Regions from separate parts of the Homo sapiens genome. Here all the other regions are linked to region 1. Evidence: promoter capture Hi-C in 16 types of primary human blood cells and fetal thymus (Javierre and others, 2016). All regions are on one chromosome and are shown on one strand. Each heading gives the region's core, a stretch centred on a gene start or on the middle of the fragment in contact. The rest is flanking DNA. Distances are from core to core; before and after follow the strand shown.

Region 1 (4,212 bases), core at 1,682-4,181:
TAGGACTGAACTTTAAGGTTCAGCTCAAACGCTACTCCCTGTTCTTTTTCTTTTTTCTTTTTTTTTTTTTGGAAGCCCCCTCCAATGGCCCTAGCCGGAATAATATCCCACTTGCATTTCTGTAGCCATTTTTGTCTACTCTCTGATTGCCCTAGCACAGTCTACCTTAATTTTGTAGTTTTGCACACACAGATTAGGCCCTTCTAAAAATTGTATTCCCCTTAAGGCACGGAATGTATACATACCATCTTTTCATTTCTTTGAATACATTGATACCAGATTCTCAAATATTTGAGTAAATGAGGCAATATAGTGTAGTAGTTAAGAGTTTTGGAGTCAGAGAGACCAAGTTTCTTACATTACCACTCATTCCCTGCATGATCTTGGGCACGTTATTTAACCTCTCTGAGCCTCAGTTTCCCATCTGCAAAATGGAGGTAATAATATCTACTCAACAGAATGGTTGTGAGGATGGAGGGATTTAAAGTACTTGGTAGGTACAGTATTCAGTAAGTTAATGTATATAATATATTCATAGTTATTTGGATGTAGATTAAGGTGAGTTTGGGTAGCCCAAATTATTTTTAAGGGGTATTTCATCTAAATAGAATTAGAAACCTCATTTTGGAAAGAGGAGCACGTCTTTATTCTACTTGATTTCATTTTAAAAATCAACTCTGAAAATTTCATTAGCCTTAGTGCTCTGGTTGGAAAAACAAATTTTCCAGAATCAGTGCTGGTGATGGCCTCATTTAGGAAATGCTGTTTTAGGGAAATGGCCTCAGGAAAAGCACGCAGATGTATGATCAGAATGCATGTTATGTAACGTACCGTGGCTGATGTGGTCGGTGGGCACATCATCCGCCTGGGGGAGATAAGAGGTTTTCTGAATCTGCTCCAGCCAGATCTGAAAGAATGTGAGAGACACTGTGGTGGTGACTTCATCCCTATACCCCTCCCACTCCATGTCTCAGGCTTGACTTGCTGTATGAGAGCACAGGCCCTCCGAATGTGTTAGAGCACTTCTTCCAATGTGGAAGCCAGGGCCCCTCTCTCAGTTGCTGAGTGTCCACTGGACATTTCTAGGTGGTTATTTGTTCCTCAGTGGGACAGGATCTGTTCTCAGCACTGCCTTTAAGGCTGGCCCTGTCATTTCTCCTTGAGTCTTAGCTGTTGTTTAAATTAGCTGCTTGGTCAAGGTGTTCTCTGATATAGTTGATTGCCACCTAGTGGCCACAGGTAAGACCGTGTGTCACGGAAACGAGAAAAATGCTATGGAGAATTTTGTTTCATTCTAAGATTTGCACAGGGTGTGTGTGTGTGTGTGTGTGTGTGTGTGTGTGTGTGTGTTTTGTTTGTTTTTGCTAGTACAATGCCAGGAGTCTGGGCTGCAGAATGGTATTTACAAGGGACTGTAACTTGCTTTTCTTATAATGAAGCACATCGAACTAGGTTTAAACTGCTACATACAGACTTGGGGAAATGGGGAGTCGTTGGAAATGCCTCTCTCCAAGCACAGTTTCTGATTGGATATGTTCTCAGTTTTCCCAGATACGGGGAGAAAGAAAAGAGCGATCTCTGGGGACTCTTCCTTAAACCATTTTAACTGCAACCTGGGGCTTGTGCTGGGGCTAAGAGAGGACAGTTGGTTGTGGCCAGCAGTTGGGTTGTATGTAGCTCATTTCTCCAGCTTCCTTGGTATAGGTGAGGTTTTATTTTATGCTCCTGCTGGTGGTAGCTCTCCCTCCAGCTCTGTGGGACTCTTCCTCAATGGACAACATGAAGGGAGGTGGTCACATGCTAATAGGAAGCACATTCCCACATATATATCAGGCTCTAGCCAGACTTACATAAGTTGGAGAGTTTGTCCTAACTTACCTGCTTTTTTTTTCACATGTCAAACATTGAGTTGGGAGGTTCACCTCTGATGAAGGCTAATGGACTTATGGAGTGCCCAACTTCCTCTCTCTTTGTTCTTTCTGCAATACCTGCTCTCAGTCAAGCAGTAGAGTGTTGGGCTTTGGGGATAGAGTGGTGAGCATGAAGGGATATGATCCTCATCCTTATAGAATGTACTAGTTGGGGAGGCATTACTTGAAGAGAAGAATTACCTGAACAAATATAAAATTGCTCTGAAGAAAAGATCTATAGTATAGTACTCAGAGAGTGAGAAATAGGGTTGGGTTTGGCCTGATTAGAGAAGTCAGGGAAGGCTTCCTGGAGGAAAGAACTTTTGGGCCAAGGGCTGCAGGCAGAGGTGGCATGTGGTGGCAGGTAGGAGTTGGGCATGCCCCGGGAACTGGCAGAGGCTGGAGCAGCTGGAGCCCAGAGAGGGGTGTGGGGAGGCCAGACCCTGCAGGGCCTCTCAGGCCTTGGGAGGGACTTTCGTCTTCACCTCCAGAGCTCTGGGAAGCCATCACAGGGCTCACTGCTGGTATTGACACAACTGGGTGGAGAACTGATTTGACGGACAAAAGTGGATGTGGGGAGGCCAGAGAGGAGCAGTTGCAGTTATCTGGGCAAATGGAGGTGTTTTGTTTAGGGGTTGCTGATAGTGATGGGAAGGAGTGGGCAGAATTGAGATGTGCTTAGGAGACTTGGGAATGGACATGGCACATGAGGGAGCCTGCTGTGTGAGAGGATGACATGTACTGGTGACTTGTGCGGCAGGGTGAATGGTGGTGCCCTTCGTTACACTGGGGATGCAGGAAGAGGCCCTCGGCTGGCTCTCTGGGGAGAGGGTGGCAGAGGGTGTTTGAGTAGAGAGAGTTTTGTTTTGAGTGTGTTGAGTTTGACCTAGGAATGGGGGTGTGGGCTAAACCTGAAGTCTCTCTGGGGCTCGTGTCCATCCATGTCTCAGCTGTCTGTCATGGGTCCTCTCTGGAGACTCTCAGGTATTCCACCTGTAAGCCAGCTTGTGTTTCCTTGCCCGCTCACATCGTACAACAGGTTTGGAGGGACACTGTGTCCAGCCCTGTCCGAGGCACTCTTTGTGCATTGTGACATGAAGCCATTCATGACTAGTTCCAGAATTATTCCAAATACAAGGTGATGAGGCACAGAGAGTAACTGGCGTCCAGGAAAGGAAGAGATTAACAAGGCCCGGGGACTTTGGTATTCTTGAACTTTAGGCAGCCATGAGGCCAATCCTGTTGCAAGTTCTAACCTCAATGATGGCCTTTCTGAGCTGTAATCACTTTCTTTTCTTTTCTTTTTCTTTTTCTTTTTTCTTTTTTTTTTTTTTTTGAGACAGCGTCTCACACTGTCGCCTAGGCTGGAGTGCAATGGTGCAACCTCGGCTCACTGCAGCCTCAGCCTCCCGGGTTCACGCGATTCTCCTGCCTCAGCCTCCCTGAGTAGCTGGGATTACAGGTGCACACCAGTACACCCGGCTATTTTATTTTATTTTTTTTTGTATTTTTAGTAGAGATGAGGTTTCACTATGTTGGCCAGACTGGTCTCGAACTCCTGACCTCATGATCCACCCGCCTTGGCCTCCCGGAACTGTAATCACTTTCTAAGTCCAAAGGGAAAGATGTGACTGAGCAGCAAAACATTTCAAGGGTAGTTAATACACAATTTTGGTAACTTTGGAGGTCACAAAGGCAATAGATGCACTGAAAATACAGTAGTAAGGTTACCTGAGTCCATGTTTGTGTGTGCACATGTATGTTAAGTTTTACCCAAGGAGAAAAAGGAAATGGCTTGACTTGTGGTATTACTGGTACAACTTGTATAAAATTAAGGTAGATTCTAATTTTTAAAAAATTATGGTAAACCTTCTGTGTTAGTGAAAGTTGGATCTATTTGGGTTAAATTCTCTTAAATCCGGTGCAGATTAATATCTGCTGGCATCTCCAAGAAAAGAAGGGCACTTCCTCTAGTCCCTGAGTGAGCAGGTGGCTCTGGGAGCAGTCTCTCAAGGCCCAAACTTCTAGCTGCTTCCATATTTCTTAGCCATCTGGTCCCCTCACTCAGAGAAGCACAGCCCTACCTACTCTGGAAAGCAGATACTTGGCCTCCCCAGATGCCGGCAGTTATGACTTCCCTCCACTCTGGCCAGCATTCTGCTTTTCTAGCAACAGATGTTTCTGCAAAGTAAATATTATTGACTCTGCTTGGCTCCTTGCTGTGTCTTGCACTGCCTGCACATGAAACAGCAGGGTTATATGAGGAGGGTGCCACGACGCTTGGCATGCACCCAGCACCAGT
Region 2 (3,757 bases), core at 293-2,792, 720 kb before region 1:
TGAGGCTTTCCCCATGGCTTTCTTCAGGTTGACATTCTGATACCACTCTAATGTGAGGAAGGTCAAACTCAAGAAAAGAGGAGAAAGGACCTTTTCCCTTGCCTAGAACAGGAGGACTAAGCCCTGCCAAGGCTCTTTGATTCACACATGATTTTCCCCAGAGGCTGACACTCCATCTTACATCAATGGCTGCCTGAAGGAAGAGGTAGAGAATCTTGAGAAAGAGTACACCAGAGAGAGCTCTCTGTGGTAGCAAGTTCTAATAGGCTTTCTTGGACTTGGCTGTTTGTTCCTTGGGGCTTTGGGGACTGTGTTAATCATAGAGTGGAACCTTGAGCACCACCTAGAGGCCAGTCCAGTTGAAGGTCTTAGGCAAAGCATTATAAAGGATAGGTGGTGTAGTTCAGATAAACTTTACATGATAGTGGAGAGTGTGGGGAAGAATTTCAGAATCATCTGAGGCAGAGTGAAGAGCAAAAATAGGGAAGTATGGGGCTTGTTCAGAGGATAGCAGCTTGATTGGGGCATAAAGGAGTATTGAGGGTCAAGGCTAAAAAGTCAGGTTGAAACAAGTTTCTCAGATACCTTGAGCACCAAGCCCATTTGCAGTAGAACCATGAAATTGATAGAGCCAGCGACATGTTGGGTCAATGCAAGACTAAGCCCACGTGGAGCACGAATTTGTTCTGTACTCGCAGAGTGTCAGTTTATATAGGCAATCATATACTAATCGTGAGGTTCTCAATTTTGAAGACTTGTGGTGGTCTCAGGAGGTATGCTTCAAGAAAATAAAGCATCTACCATAGTTGATTTTCCAGGTGATAGAACAGCATTGAAAGCTTTTAGGCAACAGAATCATATAATGAGACCCTCTTGAATATAACAAACATTTTTTCAAGCATAGTATAGTAAACTAAAATTAACACTCATGGAGTTTTCCATGTGTCAGATAATATATTAAGCATTTTACATGGATAATTAAATGTATGTAGGTAAAGAAGGCTTAAACTGCTTTTAAAGTTAGTTTCATTATTAAAAAAACTAGTATTCATTATTAAAAAACAGGAATCTTTGATTGCATGTCTGAAAATGTGTAGCATGTCATGAATTTGAATTCAGTCACACAGTCTGGACACAGATGGATATTCATACCACTGGCCTGGGCCTTAATGCCTACAATGTGTCTTTGTTTATGTCTAGAACATAAGAGACTTATTAGATATTCTTTGCAGTTTTATTTAGTTACCATTGTCATCTTTCATCTATATATCAGATTGGAATTTATAGTTAGCCTTAGGTTTAACTTTTACCTATCAAGGATTCCAAAGCTAGTACTGTTGGGTTGCTACAAGTCCTCCTTATGAAGGGTGCTGAAATCACCTAATATTTTCCCTCTAATACATTGACACCCAAGATATACTGAGGGGACAGATTTCTTTCTCTTTTTAAAAAAAGTCATCAATTCTGTAGGTGTAGTCTAATGTTAGCTCTGAATTTCTAAATGGACTGAGATCACACCTCTGTCTATTCTCTTTGTTCTTCAGTTAGAAAGAAATCTGAATCTTTATTAGGGGATTGCATACCTTCTTCATCTTGGTTCTAAGCATAAGAAATAGCAGCCCAGTTGACAGAAAGCCTGAACGTCTCAGTTTTCCTGTGTTGTTTGGTGCTTTACTGAAAATTTTGTTGTTATTGTTTGGATTTTCTAAAATTTCTGAAATGTTTTTTGATATTCTAAATTTAAAACTATGTATGTGGGGTTGTGATTTGAAGTAGGCAGTCCTTAGTAATAATAATGTTGTAGGAAGTACTAAGGGAGATTCAAGTGTTGAGCCTGCTGGTGCTTCAGGAGTGTACGTTAAGAGTTGTCAGAAACTTTCTCAGAGGTAAATGAATGCACACCATTGGAGGGCATAATAGAGTTTATTTGCTTTTCTATTTAACTGTGATACCCTGGTTTATTTGAAATCATTCCTGACACACCCAGAGAATTCAGAGCTCTAAATTAAGGGTTTGAGGAACTTACAGCAGAATTTAGAATTCTAATGACTTCACTAATTTTCCAGGGATCCCCAGAGGGAACCTGAAAAGCCATAATATCCTATGGGACTGAGTTCCCTTTGTCCACTGAAAGGGTAAGAACTCTGTCCAGATCCAGATGTAGAATCCCTTCTTTCTCTAGTTCAGAGGACATTTAGTTTAATTTTGTTAGAAGACATACTAGAAAACCGTCATGTGAAGTAAGAAAGCTTTATTTTTTTCCTCCCTATCGATTCTTTATTATGCTTATCACAGTTTTTAAAAAGTAATTATCTGCTAATTCCAACATCAGGTTAGATAAGTCTATTTGTATTGATGGATTTTTCTCTTGACTCTGGGTTACATTTTCCTGTTTTTACACACCTGGCCAGTTATTTCTTTGTTGCAGCATTGTTAATTATCATGTTGTAGAGATTATGAGCTCTGAATTTTGTCAGAAGGTTGTTGAGTTTTTGCCTAGCAGGCAGTCAAATTACTAAAGGATAAATTTGATCTTATTTCTAACTGTCATGTACAGTGATTCTTCTAGGGAGATAGGGATAGGGGAGAGGGAAAATGTAGTTTAAAAATCCTAGGCTAACTCCTGCTGAGGAAAATCACTGGTAAACTAGTGACTACTCTGCTAAATTGCCTCTCTTGACATTGTCAACCTGAAGCCATCAAAAGGATCAGAATACAGAGTTTATGCAAGTAGAAAGCTGGGAATGGCCAATCAGAGAACACAAACTTTAGAAAATGGGGTCAGTGTTCCCAAAAGCTTTATTTTCTTTTATGGACTTCTACTTCTTTGATGGAGATGTCACCAATTAAAAGGTAGCTGAAGAAAGACACAGGTAGGGAATTTTTAAAATAACTTTGCCAGAAAGATACAGATACAGAATTTTTAAAATAACTTTACCAAAACAGAAAAATAATATACTTTCCATATTGTACTAAGATTTGGCATTTTACTAGAAAAGGGCATAAGAATAGTGACTTTTCTAGTCAGGCTACCTGAAATATAGTACAAATAAACCAATCTTGAAGTGATCCCAAAACACCTCCTTCTAATCAGTCAAAGTAGATATTACAAAAGCTAAACATTAAAGCTCATGTACTACTATCATAGGGGCAGCTCTCAGGTTCCTTTTCAGAGTCCATTTAAGCTTAAGGGAGGGAAAAATGTATTAATAAGCTGTTATCTGTTTTCCTACTTCATAACAAAATGCCAGAAGGAACTGCTAAAGGTGTGCACAGTGGCCATCAAGAAGTATGTGACTGGGCCGGGCGCAGTGGCTCACGCCTGTAATCCCAGCACTTTGGGAGGCCGAGGTGGGCAGGTCACCTGAGGTTAGAAGTTTGAGACCAGCCTGGGCAACATGACAAAACCCCGTCTCTACTAAAGATACAAAAATTATCTGGGTGTGGTGGTGTGCACCTGTAATCCCAGCTACTTGGGAGGCTGAGGCAGAAGAATCGCTTGAACCCAGGAGGTGGAGGTTGCAGTGAGCCAAGATCACACCACTGCACTCCAGCCTGGGCGACAGAGCGAGACTCTGTCTCAAAAAAAAAAAAAAAAAAAAAAAAAAAGTATGTGACTGAGGAAGCAGAAGAAACAGATACCTGTTATAAACATCTGTACCTGAAATGGTAAAAAATGTAAAGTGTTTATACTTTTCTTATTTACCAGTTCACTGGAAAATACATTTTTATGGATTACCACCTCCTCTGATGCTGC
Region 3 (3,786 bases), core at 624-3,123, 960 kb after region 1:
AGAGTGCTAGGTAGACTCAGGATTGGTCAGGATGGGCATCATGGAAGGTCAGGGGATTTTAGAGCAGGAACAAGGGTATGGCTGAATTGACCTGCCATGGAGTCCTGAGCAGACAAGAGAATACAGAAAGAGGGATTATACACTGAGGGTGGAGGAAAGGCTGGCTGGAATCCAAAGGAGTGTGAGAGACATGTGTCCATGAGATTGCAATCACAGAGGCGATTCAGAAAGGTCAAGGTCACAGAAGAGAAGACCTGCTCGAGGCAGGGTTGCCCGGTGGCTGCAATAGAGAAGGAGATCACGGGAATCAAGAGCAGGAAATCATTGGTCCAAGAGCTGAGGTCACTAGGGATAATAGCTAACCACTGGACCTTTTTAATGGCATGTATAATTATAATCCCACATGTACTGGTTTACTTGCCATTGTCCATTTTTCACCATACCAAACTAAATTATAAGCCCCTCAAGGGCAAGGATGAAGTATGTTTCTGTGTGATATCCAGTGTCTGTCATAGTAAGAAATATTCATTAAATATTTGGAGAGCAAATGAATGAATGATTGAATGTTTGACTACAGCACACCACTTCTCACGAAAAAGACTTTGTTTATAGCAATTGTGTAGTACCAGTGGAAAAACACTTGAGACTGGGGAGTAGTGAAAACATAGTTTTACCAAGCCGTGAAGCTCTGGATTATATACAGTTGTTTGTATGATACCTAAGTTGTTCTCTCCATTCTGAAAGTGTACGTACTTCAAGGGCAAGAGCCAAATCCTATATAATCCTTATGTAATACTTCCTTTCTATCCACAGAGCAGCCAGCAGAACTCTAGAAAAATAACAAGCAGATGTATACAGCCTGGAGGAGGAGGTTTTATAGTGAAACAGACTTTTATAGAGTTAGAGAAAACTGCCCCATCACTGATCTTCAGTAACTTGTTTCCTCATCTGTAAACTAGGAATAAAAAACAGGATGCAGCACATAGGGTTGATGTAAAGCTTAAGTGAGATAATGCGTATACCCATCTGTCAGTGCCAGGTACATAGCCCTCCATGTAAGACAGCTAAAGATAAAAATACTATTTTATCTGTTTTTTGGACTGTGTAAGCTGCAGTTGGATTTAGGGTTTGTCACTGTTTGTAGCAGCGACATTCTCATGCTCTTCTCAGTACCCTGGCCAAAAGGTTTGCTTCAGCAGCAGTGATTCCAGACCCCAACTCTGCTCTTCTCTGGAAGCAGGTATCTGCACGCTCCCACAGCAGGGGCTGATGACCTCAGGGGCTGATCTGTGCAAGCACAGCTCTATGCTGCCCTCTGGTGGATGTATTTTGGGCTGCCCCTTCCCTGCCATGGACTTGCTGCTGTGCTGACATTAAGGTGCAAAGATAAACTATATGAAGAGCACCTATGAGGAGGTTCTTTGGAGATTACAGGGTAATGAGGGAGGAACGCACTCCACCAATTGTTGTGTTTGGTTCAGCTTCTCAGTTGTACAATCCTACTTCTACCAAGGGAATGGCTATTTCTGCACCAATGAAAAACTCATTACCTCCAAGGGATTTTGGAGGTTAATCAAGGTGGTTCTGAGGCTCTGAGAGGGGCAGCGTCGAGCCTAAGATCACACAGTTAAACGACGACTTTGGCCTCTTAATCTCTGTATTATAACCATTTGCAGACCACTTTCTTTCTGTAAGGAAAAAGTCACAGGGCTCACTGTAAAATGCAAATTATTCTGGAAGGGCATCTGCTTTGCCTCACCTGAGAGTAATCTAAATGGCCATAATAGACCCAGGAGCCATGTTTATGTCTTCTCTTTTCCTCATCTATTACAGCCAATAAATAAGCAGGCTCTTCGGTTTTCCATATCATGTGTCTTATTCGCTGTGCTCCATCTCATCTGCTACTAACTAGCTCCATTCCCTATCTCTTTGTTTGGATGACTACAGTTGTCTCCTAAGGGCTCTCTCTGCTTTTCTCCTCCCAGCTCCTTCACAATCCTCTCTCCTCCCAGCAGCCAAGATGAGCTGATACAAGTCCTGTTTAAAACTCAACACTTCACCCTTGTCTAGACATCCATATGTGATTTCAATCTCATTGTATACCCATGCCCCCTTGGCTCTCCATATTCCAGCCAACCTGAGCCCTCTTCCATCACTCCGACATGGCCAGCCTTTGCCTTTGCACTTGCTGTTCTCTCTGCATGGAATAGTCTTCTCTGCACACTTCTCATGGCTGGCTTTTCCTCTTCTTTCATCTCAGTATAGATGTCTCCTCTTAGAGAGGCCGGCAATGACCACCCTATCTAAAAGAACTCCTTCCCCCAACATTCTCCTTCCCCAATATGGCAGCTCTTGTTATGCGTTTCTATGAATTTCCTTCATAACAGTAATCACTACCCGTCATTATCTTGTTTATTTGCTTAATGCATGTTCTCCATTAGAATATAACTTCCAGGAGGGCAGACTCTTTGCCTTCCCATTGCTGGAGTCTTCTCAGTGTCTGGTACATAACAGATACTCAAAAAAGTGCTTAGTGGAGTGGAAGAGGAGTACTTTATAGCTTGTGGCATTGGCTAACTTTTCATAACCTGGCCCCATCTGTAGCTGCTCCCCTGCCATACCCAGCCACGTAGAACCATCTTGATCAGATCGTTCCCTTATGTTGGTTGACTGAGTGAATGAGCATGTTTAAGGGATTTCATTTTCTCTATAGCATGTCCTGTATGAATGTTGATATATGCATAGACAAAGCTTTATATATTTACACAAAATCACATTCCTTCCTCCATGAAACTTATAATCGTGAATTTGAATTCCTTTCTTTATTCATTGCTGTAAGTCATAGTAACAAGATTTGATTGTACTAAACGCCATCCCATCACATTAATACAAACTTGATATTATGTTTATTTGATGAAGGTTTCCCCTGAAACTAGGCACTCAGGAATTGTTTCCAAGAAAAATAATTGAATAGGGAAAGAGACTGCAGTTGCCATTAAAATTAAAACCAGAAATCATTTCGTGTGTGTTATTCTTCCCTGGTTCCACCTCCAGCAATGACTGGAAACAGGTCCTTAAGGGCAAGTAATAAGAATGAATGTCACAAGAGTCAGAAATAATGAACCAATATCTTGCAGAAACACTACAGCATATGCCAACACAGAAAGAGGGTTGGGTAGGAAAGTGTGTGCATGTGAAAAAATAAACATCCCAGTAAAGAAATACGCAGAACCACGTTGATATATATACACAATGTCAGGTTCCTTTTGACTCAACAACAATAATCTGGTCACACAGAGTGAAACTGCAACCCTATCTGGCCCTTGATGTGGAAGGTGCTGAATCACCTGCCCAGGGGAAACTGCAGACATTTAGCACTTTCAAAGATGAGAATGAGCTAATAAAATTAGAGTCTGGCTCACTAAGCAAACATCACTGTGTGCCAGCCTCTCTTTGGAGCAAACCTGCTTTCTCAAATGCACACCACAATTTACTCTCCATGTACCATTTCCCTTATGTCAGTGAATGCCTTTCTCATGTCTTTGAATGTCTTTCTTGATAGCATACGAAAAATGAAGAGAAGGTGAGTTGAGAGGGGAAGGAGTGGGGAATAATAACATTTAACTAGATTTGTCATCTACTATTTCTATTAATTACCCTGGGGTTTCATCTCCTGGATCTTGTTATCTCTTTAGAGTAAAAAGCATTTAGTTTACTTAGATGATGGCCAAATACTCTTTTTTAAAAAAATACAGTTAGATAGAAAGAATAAGTATTAGTGTTCAA

Evidence for each region. Contacts are between HindIII fragments. The CHiCAGO score rates a contact against its expected background, and 5 or more counts as called.
Region 2: a fragment that was not itself captured here is called in contact with the fragment with the promoter of ARHGAP26-AS1 in region 1 in 1 of 17 cell types (naive B cells); the score reaches 5.4 in naive B cells.
Region 3: a fragment that was not itself captured here is called in contact with the fragment with the promoter of ARHGAP26-AS1 in region 1 in 4 of 17 cell types (total B cells, fetal thymus, naive CD8 T cells and 1 more); the score reaches 7.2 in total B cells.

What each region holds. Positions count from the first base shown.
Region 1 is chr5:142,865,979-142,870,190 of GRCh38, forward strand. It overlaps ARHGAP26-AS1 (ARHGAP26 antisense RNA 1), which reads right to left and starts at 2,932. Exons shown (of 6, transcript NR_046680.1): 1 at 2,822-2,932; 2 at 1,879-2,111; 3 at 832-907. All of the region lies in intron 1 of ARHGAP26 (Rho GTPase activating protein 26), which reads left to right. RefSeq lists a silencer at 1,046-1,340. The HindIII fragment of the contact is 5,262 bases long and covers 1-4,212 here.
Region 2 is chr5:142,145,169-142,148,925 of GRCh38, forward strand. The region is part of intron 7 of NDFIP1 (Nedd4 family interacting protein 1); the gene reads left to right. Among named protein-coding and RNA genes, the nearest start is that of NDFIP1, 38 kb to the left of the region's middle. RefSeq lists an enhancer at 210-299. The HindIII fragment of the contact is 1,410 bases long and covers 838-2,247 here.
Region 3 is chr5:143,823,993-143,827,778 of GRCh38, forward strand. No RefSeq gene overlaps it. Among named protein-coding and RNA genes, the nearest start is that of HMHB1, 14 kb to the left of the region's middle. RefSeq lists a silencer at 1,249-1,388. The HindIII fragment of the contact is 1,752 bases long and covers 998-2,749 here.